Linked DNA regions of Homo sapiens: region 1 is linked to region 2. Evidence: promoter capture Hi-C in 16 types of primary human blood cells and fetal thymus (Javierre and others, 2016). All regions are on one chromosome and are shown on one strand. The core of a region is centred on a gene start or on the middle of the fragment in contact, and the rest is flanking DNA. Distances in the headings are between cores, read along the strand shown.

What was found. Contacts are between HindIII fragments. The CHiCAGO score rates a contact against its expected background, and 5 or more counts as called.
Region 1: a fragment that was not itself captured here is called in contact with the fragment with the promoter of MAMLD1 in region 2 in 1 of 17 cell types (M1 macrophages); the score reaches 5.0 in M1 macrophages.

What each region holds. Positions count from the first base shown.
Region 1 is chrX:150,237,700-150,242,977 of GRCh38, reverse strand. No RefSeq gene overlaps it. Among named protein-coding and RNA genes, the nearest start is that of MIR2114, 12 kb to the right of the region's middle. RefSeq lists an enhancer at 3,938-4,439. The HindIII fragment of the contact is 181 bases long and covers 1,879-2,059 here.
Region 2 is chrX:150,361,674-150,366,621 of GRCh38, reverse strand. MAMLD1 (mastermind like domain containing 1) reads right to left here and starts at 3,305. Exons shown (of 8, transcript NM_005491.5): 1 at 3,092-3,305. The HindIII fragment of the contact is 7,703 bases long and covers 1-4,948 here.

The DNA.
Region 1 (5,278 bases), core at 720-3,219, 120 kb after region 2:
GGCTATTGGAAAGGGAAGGGTGTGGGTGCTACTCCCTGGAGGAAGGGCAGAGAAAAGGCAGAATCTGTGACTGCCAGTTTGGGGGTGGGGGAAGATCACTCCCCTACCCTGACCTTTGGCTTTTTATCCACCAATCTCACCACCAGGAGCCTAGCCTGGTTCCCTATGAGCATGAGGCTTCATCCTCACCACTTCTGATGCCAGTATAGGGGATGGATGGAAGGTGTGGAAGAAAAGCGTGGAACCCTGAAAGACACTCCCAAAGTGCTTCAGCCTAAGAGAGCTCTACCTGCTGATGGATTATGATTCTTTCTACCAGAACAACTACCTCTAACTCTATCTCTTCCTCTCCCGCCTGTCTGTGTGTGTAATAAACACACACATAAATACATGCATATACACACAGAGAGAGGCAGAATCACATGGAGCATTTCAATCAGACATAAACAGTTTGAAGGGTGATAAGATGTTTTCAAATAGAGATAGCAATGTGATCTTTGCAATGGTGCAGGAAGGCCACGTGCTTGTTAGCGATCTTGTATATAATTGTGCTAAATTCAGCATAGGCAATAGGATAAGCACTCAGAATGGCTGCCTCCCTCCAGACTTCTGAGCAATGTAAAGGACCTTTTTTTTTTTTTTTTTTTTTCCTGAGACCGAGTTTCACTCTTGTTGCCCAGGCTGGAGTGCAATGGTGTGATCTTGGCTCACCGCAACCTCCACCTCCCGGGTTCAAGCGATTCTCCTGCCTCAGCCTCCCGAGTAGCTGGGATTACAGGCATGCGCCACCAGGCCCAGCTAATTTTGTATTTTTAGTAGAGACGGGGTTTCTCCATGTTGGTCAGGCTGGTCTCGAACTCCCGACCTCAGGTGATCCACCCACCTGGGCCTCCCAAAGTGCTGGTATTACAGGCGTGAGCCACCGCACCCAGGTGGGACTTTTAAATTGTCATTGGAAGAAGGGAAATACTGCTGAGGTTTTAAAGGACTTTGAAGGCAGAAATTCAAAATGGAGCCAGCTTGCTTTAGGAGGTTCCAGGCTACACAGTAAGTTTGAGGCAAATGGTACCTGAGGATTCATTTACTTGGAAGATATAAGATGCATAAGGGGCCACGCTCCTGGGCACAGGTGAGCCAGGGTGTAGACTGCAGGTATAGATGCTAATTGCTACTGTTGTGAATATTTGCTTCTTTGGGCTTCATGCTTATTTTTCCAAAATCTCAATTTCCTTTAAAATCAATAAAATGCTCTTGTATCTGGGCAGAGATCAGCAGTTCCCAAAGCACTTCTCCAGGCTGCATTGCATCTGGCCCTCCCAACAGCCAAGGGAGCTGGACAGCCCAGCTCTTACATCCCCATTTATGGGGGGAAGACAGGTGCAGCCAGGTCCCACAACTAGAGAGAGGCCCCTGGCTGAGAAGGGACTTCAATCCAAGGGTGGTCTCTCAGCCCCTGTAGTATTTATCACCTAACCACTAACATGTAAGGGACTTTTACCTAGAGGCAAAGCACATGATCCAAATCCAAAAAACTCACTAATGCCAATTCACTTTCCTTCTTGCCCTCTCTCCCTGTGTATCTGTCTCTGTCTCTTTCTGACTCTGTCTGTCTGCATCCAGGCCTGGGCTGACAGGCATGTGCCCAGATGTTTTCCTCTTTACTGAGAAAGCAAGCCCCACACTATCAGAGCTGTTCCCACCATTGCTGGCAGTTTCTAGCCAGCCTAGACCCCAGGCCTCAGTTGGTCCCAGGTAACCTCAGTTACCAAATGAGCATGTGCTGTTTAGCAGCTAGATTGTTTCTGGATTATGAGTGATAAAACAAATAACAAGTAAGCTTCTAGCCTGTGCCTGACTGAAATGTGGCCTGTGAAAGCTTAGCAACTGCACGTGCACAGGCGGTCAGGGGACCCAGCGGGCCCCTTGCTAGCTGCAACAGAAAAGATGTGTCTGTAGAAGATGGGGTGCTGAGGCCTGGGACAGGTGGAGATGGATTATGGTGGCTGAGGGGTGACACAGTAGGCCACCTAATACTTTTATGATAGGTTTAAATCAAGCTTAGCTACAGCTCAGGTAGCAGTTTCCCTGGCAAACCTTGTTTGACCACCTGTGCCTCCCTCCCACCATGTGCACAGGCACAAGAAATCCCTGTAAACAATGATGCACACACAGACAAGTGCACCCAGAGGCACACCCGCTCACACACGTGTACATGGGCACACACAGTCATGTACAAGCATGCATGCTCCCACATGCCATCCGTGTTGGGCTCCACTCCTCAGTTTCCGTACCACTTGAGCTTCCACCCGTTGGATCCCTTAGCTCACAGACCTACAAATGCCCATCCCTAGCACAAGTGCCCTACGTCCCTTCTGAAAAAGGCCCAGAGAGGGAGCGTCAGATAACTGAGATTACCTGGGACCAGGTACCTGGATCCCTGAAATAGGGATCTCTCAGGCTTCAGAGCTGGGAAGTCAGAAATACTTCTGCATGCCTCACTCTCAGTGCTGCTGCTGCCACTGCTTCAGGCCTTGCTCCTGCTGTGTCCCCCACCCTGGGGCACAGTGAGCCCCTGCTCCCCAGCGCTTGACCAAGGCTCTCTGTACACTAATTAGGCACTGCCTGCACCTCTTCTTGTCCAGGCAGGGTGACTAACACTAAGTCTTTCTGCCTCTGCACCCTTGGACAGCCTCTGTGCCCCTTCCATACTCTCCTGGGGCAGCTCTCTCTCCTTATCTGAGGCCTGCCCTTCACTGGTATCCCAGGTCTTAGAATGAATGTCTGCCCCAGGCAGAGTATTGTTCTAGGACCTGGGATCCTGTCTTGCCCAGGCCCAGCCTGCACTGAGTAGTTTGCTTTCCTTCCACAGCTGCTGCCCTGACCCAGGAGGGGTCCCGTGAACTCCTGCTCATAGTTAAGCCTAGATGAACATTATGATTGGAATTGTGTTCCCCCAAAAGATCTTAAAATTCTAACCCCCAGAACCTGTGAATGTGACCTCATTTGAAAATAGTCTTTGCAGATGAACAAGTTAAAATGGGCCATTAGGGTGGGCCCTAATCTAATATGACTGATGTCTTCATAAAAAGGGGACATTTAGACAGAGAGACAGGCAAACATAGAGGGAAGATGATGTGGAGACACAGGGAGAATGCCATCTCCACGCAAAGAAACACTTGAAGCTGCGAGAGGGTAGGAGAGAGGCCTGGAACTGATTCTCTCACAGCTCTCAGAAGGAACTCCCCCCACTGACATTTTGGTTTTGGACTTCTGGCCTCCAGGCAGAGTTTGACAGGGACAACCTCACCTGTGCAGTCCTGGTGAACTGCCTGGAGGTGCTGGGCAGGGGCTAACTCTGCCTGCTCTGGTTTGATAGCCACATGCCTCCCTCTACCTGGTGCAAATTGTTCCTGAGGGTCCTGTTCGCCTTTCCAGATCATCCATCTGGCCCCTCCCAGTAACCTGATACTCATAAGCACAATACATTTTTTTTCCTATGCTTCCAGCCTTTCAATAGCTTCTTATGGCCCCCAGATAAAGCCCTAGTTCCCTCCTGTGGCCCATGGAGCCTGCCTGGTCTGGTCCCTGTCCATCTCTATAGCCCTGCCAGTCCCCTACCCCAGAAATCTGGATGTCATGTTTTGCCCCTCCTTCTCTCTCCCTCATGCCCCCATCCAACCTGTGGCCTTAGTCCTGGCCAGACTCTCAGCCAGCTCACTGTTGGTTGCTCCACCTCCCTCCCCCACGCTGGCCTAAGCCCTCTCTGCTCCTCCCTGGATAGCTGTGCCAATCTCCTCCCTGGACCCTCTGCCTCCAAACTGCATGTCTCCCACCATTGTCCACGTGGCAGCCAGAGGAATCCTTTGCAAACACAAATCTGACCACGTCGCTCCCCTTCTTCAAACATTTTGGTGGCCCTGAGCACAAAGGCCCAGCTCCCTAGCAAGGCCACCAGGCCCTGTATGACTGCAACCCCATTGTTCTCTCCTGCATTGCCTTCTGATTTACAATATTTGCTGCCCTTGATCCAGGAAACCTTGCAGGGCCCCACAACAGAGGCATGGGTTCTCCTGCAGGAGGCCGCACTGGTGCAGGAGGCAGCACTGGTGCAGCAGGTAGGCTGTGTAGCTGAGGGAGCCACTGACCTCACTGCTTTCTCAAGAGAGCAAGGAGAGTTCCCCAACTGGCTGGCTGTGCTGGCAGCAAGGTTTCCAGGGTTGAGGTGGGTGGGGAGATTCGTATTATGCTAATTAGATCTGGCTCCTTAGGACTGTCCCTCAGGCACTGATTTCTGGAAAGGGCTCATTGAGCTTGACTTTGACAGATGGCCTCTGGGATGAATGAGTGTGAGTGTGTACATGTCCATGAGTGTACATAGGTGTCCAGTATGCATGTGCGTCTGGGTGTGTAGGTGCGACTATGTGTATATAACATTGGGATATGTACACATACACTCCTACATGCCATGTATTTGTGTGTATGTATATGTGTATGTTGCATGTACACATGTGTATGTATGTATATGTGTATCTGTGAGTGTATCCACATGTACGTGTGCATATATTATGTGTGCATGTATATTCGTGTGGGTGTGTATATTTATGTGCATGTTGGTGTGTTTATGTGTGTGTTCATGTGTGAATATGGATGTATGTGTATACATGGGTATACGTGCCTGGGGGTGTGTTTGTGTGTATAAAATATATGTGCATGTTCATGTGTGTGTAGGTACATACATAGCTCTGTATATAGATATATGTGTATTTGTATGCAGAAAGTGTGGACATCAACGGATGTGTGAATTTGTATCTATAACTAGGTTCATCTGCAAAGGTGCATATATGTTTAGGTGTATGTATGTATATGTATATGAGAGTGTGTGTGTGTTTGGGGGATGCAGGTATACATGGTTGTGTGGATTTGTGTCTGTGTCTGGGTGTTGTCTGCATAGATGTGAATGTATGTGTATGTGTGTGTAGGTATATGTATATGTGCATGGATGTGCAGATGTGTGTTTACATCTGGATGTATCTGCGTGGATGTAGATGTGCAGATGAGATACATCTATGTGTCTGTGTATGTATGATGTGATTTGGATGTGTATGGGCATATGGATGTGTGTCTATATCAGGTATATCTTCATGGGTGTACATCTATGAGTGTGTCAGATGCAGATATGTACATGTGTGTAGATGTGTGTTCATAGCTGAGTGCATCTGCACAGGTGAGGATGTTTGTGTATGTAAATGGGGGGTGTGGATGTATATGGGTATTTGAT
Region 2 (4,948 bases), core at 2,056-4,555:
TGTTACTTTAAGGGGAAGAAGCTGATTAGCTGCTCTGGCTGGCAGCAAACAGCTGGTCTGTCCGGCAGGTTCAAGGCCATTTCAGCTTCTCTCTTATGGAGGCACCATATGTTCCATCTCGCACATCAGCAGCTTTATTTTCCAATGATCTTGCTCCAGAAGAGAAGCACAAAGGAGGGAGGAGAAGGCAGAACCAGTAGTTTACCCTTTGATTACTTTCTTGTGGTTTTAGATGCAGTTGGGATGTGTGTATGCGCGCATTTGGGATGTGTGTATGCGCGTTGAGGGTGTTAACGCTTCATCTTCTACTCCAAAGACGCAGAGAACAAATGTTTGAGCAGCACTTATCAATAACCTCCAGAGATGGGAGGGGAGGGGAGTAGGAGAAAGATATGCAAAAAGGCACAAATAAAACGTCGACATCAGATTAAATGGAAGTAGGAGGGGCGGAGGCGGCCAGAGAGCGGGTGGAATCTGACTTCGCTTGGGAGACCCACCAGCCTGAGCCTGGGCCCCGCCCACTTTCCTTATTTGTCACTTTTTTCTTTTCAGTATTCCCTTCCCGAACAAACTCTATGAGAGACACCGACCACTTTGGGGCACAGGGGCGGAGCAGGCCAACAGAATGGCGAAAGGTTACTTCTAACATTATATTTGACATTCCTCAGTGCAAGCCCTGGTTCTCGAAAGTTTTAGGGGGGCAGTTATAAGGGACAAGGACCCGCTAAATGGTCAATCTAACTAAAGCTGGCAGCTTTAGTGTCAGGCGCTGGGTTAGGTGCAGAGGCAGCAGGCCAGCGCGCAGTCCAGAGTAGCACGCTCATCCTCACTGCCCGCCTAGGCTACACGAACCCCGGAGGTGGCGGCTCCCACTGCCTCCGCGCCTCCAAACAAAGGGCGCTCGGAGAGTTTGAGCCCTTGTGTGTGGTGGGGCGGAGGGTGTGGCAGGAGGGCGCGGGAAGAAATGAGGCGTGTAGCCAGACGCGGGTGGCCTAAGCCTCCGAGCTGCCGCCTCCGTCTTAGCCACCGGCGGGCGCGACAGCTGCCCTGAGCTCCGGCGGCGAGGGGCGCCCGCTGCAAAGCGAAACCAAGGAAAGGGCGCCCCCTATGCCCGAGCCCGGCGAGCGCATCGGCGAGTCGCGTCTGCCCACCCCGCGGAGCGCTTGCAGCCTAGGGCCTCTGCGCGCGCCCGCCAGCTCGCAGTGCAGTCCACTCGGCCGTCCCGGCCGCCAGGATTTAGGGTGTCCAGGGCTGGCAGGCCGGGCGTGCAGCGAGGGCCGGGGCTGAGGCTCCGTGCGCCTTCGTGGGTTCCCACAGAGGGTCCTCGAAACACAGCCCCCTCCCCCATCGCCTACACTTGCCCTCCTGTCCCGAGCGGCTCGAAACCACTTGGAGACAGCCGCCCCCGCCCTCTGCCTCTGCGTCCCTTTTCCCCTTCCCTCTCTCCAGCCTCCTGGGAAACAAAGGGGCTTTTTATAAAGCGGATTGTTGGCGGCGGCGGCGGCGGGGGTGGGAGGGAGGGGGGATCTATAAAGACAAGAAGAGGTGGGAGGGAGGGAAGGAAAGAAGCTGCGCGGCCTCCAGGGGCCCAGAGCTGCGGTGGCGGCCGGGAAGCCCCGGCGGGTGCACGGTCGACCCCGCCCGGCCGGTGGGCACTCGGGCGGCAACCCACGCCTGCCAAGAGCTGGGCCGCGCCGCTGCGATGTCGCTCGCCGGCTCACCGCAACCAGGGAACACAATTCCCCAGGCGCGGGCCGGGGCCGCTGGGGGCGGCGCAATTCCCGCGGGGGTCTACCCCGGGAGACCCAGGCCCTCTCCCTAGCCAACTCTTTCAAAATTGCTTGGTCTCAGGGAGACTTTGCGCCTTTGTTCCAGCGCAGCCGCCTCTAGTAAGCTCGGCTCGCTCGCCCTTGCAGACAATGTCCCGGAGCCGGCCTGGGTTTGCCTACCCGTGAGCAGCACGTTCACCGTGGGGACCGCGCCCCCGGGGGGCACCGTGGTGCCAAACAACAACGACAAGCCACCCCAGCAAAAGCAGCCCCTTCTCCCCACGTCCCCCAGCCACGCTGTGCTCCCGCCCGCTCACACACACCCACACTCCGGGTGCCCAGGTCAGCCGCACCCAGCTGCAGAAGCGCGGCGGGGCGGGAGTGAATGCTCCAGCCCGAGGCGCGTGTTTGCACAGGTTCCGATGGCTTCAGGGCCGAGCTTTCTGGCAGGCTAATCCTATTAGTGTCTGCTCAGTCCGAATTTAATCACGGATCAGAATCAGACGACATCTCCAGCTTTCCAGGAGGCTTCGGACACACTGCATTGGGACGGAGCCTGGCCAAGCCAACTGGCCGAGAAAAGTATTTGGCGGCGCTCCGGGGGGCTTCCCGCCCGCGCTAGCCGGCGCCGGGCGCCCAGCTCTGTCGTCGCGCGGATGCTGGGGAACCTGAAGCGCGGACTCTGACGCAGGGGCGCCGGGGCTGCTCCGCAGGAACCCAGTCCGGGCTGCCCTGAACACCAGCTCAGCTCCGGGCTGCGCTTCCCAGGAGTTGGCAGGGGAGGGAGTGCAGGGCAGCGGATTCGGCGCGCACACTCCACACTCTCGCTCAGAGGCGGCAAACAGCGTTGGGGTGGGGAAATCCTTCATCCAGCGCCCACTGCCTACTGGCCTGGGCTCAGGCAGCTGGCATGTGAAGGCACCGTCGCCGGTGACACCCAGGCTGCAAGCGACCCGGGGGTGCTGGGACAGAGTGGGAGCCTCCCAGTAGCCCAGCGTAGCCCGAGGAGCTTGCGCCCTTCTACCTTTCCTCCCCGGTACGTGGCTGTCCCCGCCGGATTTCAGACGCCCGACGGGCGCCGAGCCAAAGGCCGTGGTCTCCGGCGTTTCGAGCTGCGCCCAGCCCAGCCGGGCTGGTTCGAGAAGGGGGTGGCCGCCCGCAGCGCCAGGTGGGCCGTGTGCTCAGAGCAAACTTTAGGGTCTACCGACTCGAAGCACCCCTGGGACCCCGATCCTCAGCGATGGGGACCATAACTGGGGGCTACAAGTGTACCCCGGAACCCCCAGAACAGTCAGACTTCCTGCACCCGCCCTCAGCCTTACCGTGCTGCAGAGCTCCGGCGGCGGCGGGGGCAGTGTCCGAGGGGCGGGCGGCCGCCGGCGCGGGCAGCCTGGACTCAGGCGGCCGCCAAGGAACCCAGCCCTGTTGCAGATCACCCCCTGGCTAGCGGCCGGTGCCCCCGCGCCCGCCCGCCGCCGGCCGCTTCAGCTCGCGGCCAAGTTCATGCTGGCGGCGCTGCAGTGGCGGCCTCAATCTGCTCGCTCCATTCCCACCGCCCGGCTCCGCGCCGCGCGCCCGGAAGGTGGAGTTTCGGGGGTTTAAGTTACTGATAGGCATTTCTCACTGCTGTGTCACTCGGGGAGGAGGAGACACGCACGCCGCACACTCACACACCCTCACACTCACGGCGACGAGCGGCTCCGGCCTTAAAGGGGAAGCCGCGCTGCCCTGCCCGCGACCCCGCCAGCCCGAAGCCTGGAAACTCAGGGTTTCCACTCCGGGATGGGGCAGCGGGCAGCCAAAGAGCTGCGGCCGCCCGAGGGGCCTCCCGGGCCCTCCCACCAGTCTTTAGAGGAGAAAGCGGCCGCAGGCTGGCTTCGCTGTTGCAGCCTCATTTCTCCAGTCGGCTCGAACCAGGGCAGCTGGGGAGGGATCGGAGGGGCGGAAGGGGCATCGGTGCACTCACCTTGGCTGCTCCGCACTCAGTGGAGGGTGGTCTGTGCCCCCGGCGTCAGCTGGCTTGCCTAGGCGGTGCGCTGGTGGAAAGAGGCGACAGCAGGGTTAGCGGAGCGCCTCCAGCAGACAGAGCCCGCCGGAGGGCCGCAGGCGGGGCCCGGCGCGCTTGGGAAACCCGCACGCCGAAGGTAGACTTTCCGCGTCTGGGGAAAACGAGCTGGTGAGCCGTGCGTGGCCGGGACACACGAAGAGCGAGCACGGAGAGCCAAAAGCCAGCGGTCATCAGTGACAGGGCGAGAGAGCGCTCAGGACCGAGAGACCAAGAAAGACAGGAGACCGTACGAGACACAGAGAAGGCAGAGACTGAGAGACAGATACCGAGAGAGGCACCGGCGGAGATAGAGGTAGAGACACGATGAAGGGAGAGGAGAGGAGAGGAGATGAGAGGAGAGGAGAGGAGAGGAGGAAATAAGGAGAGGAGGAGAGGGACCAGAGAACAAGAGAGCTTGCAAGAGGAATGACAGATCCCCAGAGGACCCTGAAGTGTCACAGGGACGGGAGTCTCATCACAAAGTAGCCTATTCAGCCCCCATCCCCCTTCCCATTTTCACCAGAGCCTGACCCTAGGGCTAGCGGCCAGGCCCTTCTCCTCCCCTCGCCCTGGGAGGGGCACTCACCTGCAGTGGGTGGCTGCTGGGTGGGTAGCGCCAGTCCCTCCGCCCACGCATCCGCTCACCAGCTCGCGCCCTGACTGCCAAACAGACCCGCTGTGGCGGCAGCGGGGACCAGGGCTCTCAGGTGGCAGTTAGTGAACTGCATTCTCTCCATCCCGGCCGAGTGCCCCACTCCCCACTTCCCAGTCCCCCACCCTTAGCGCGGACGCTGTCGGCGTCGCCCGCCAGTACGCTTAGCTCAGAGTCCAGGCTCGCTGGCCAGTCTCCCGTTCCACTGGACCAGGGCACGCGATGCTCCCGCCCAAGCTGGGCTGGATTGGCTCCCTCCGCAGTTATCCCAAGACGGACACCTGCGGCTTCTGCAGGAACATAGGTTCCTTGGGAACTGCCGGGCGGGCCAGCGCGCCCTGTCCACCATCTGCCCTGGCGCCGAGTCCAGCGACTCCCCTCCCACCTATCCCACCTCCCGGGTATTTGGCTGCGCCCCTTCTCTAGGATCCCCTCCCCGGATGCGTTTCCTAACCTGGACTTCTCCAGCCGATGGCAGCT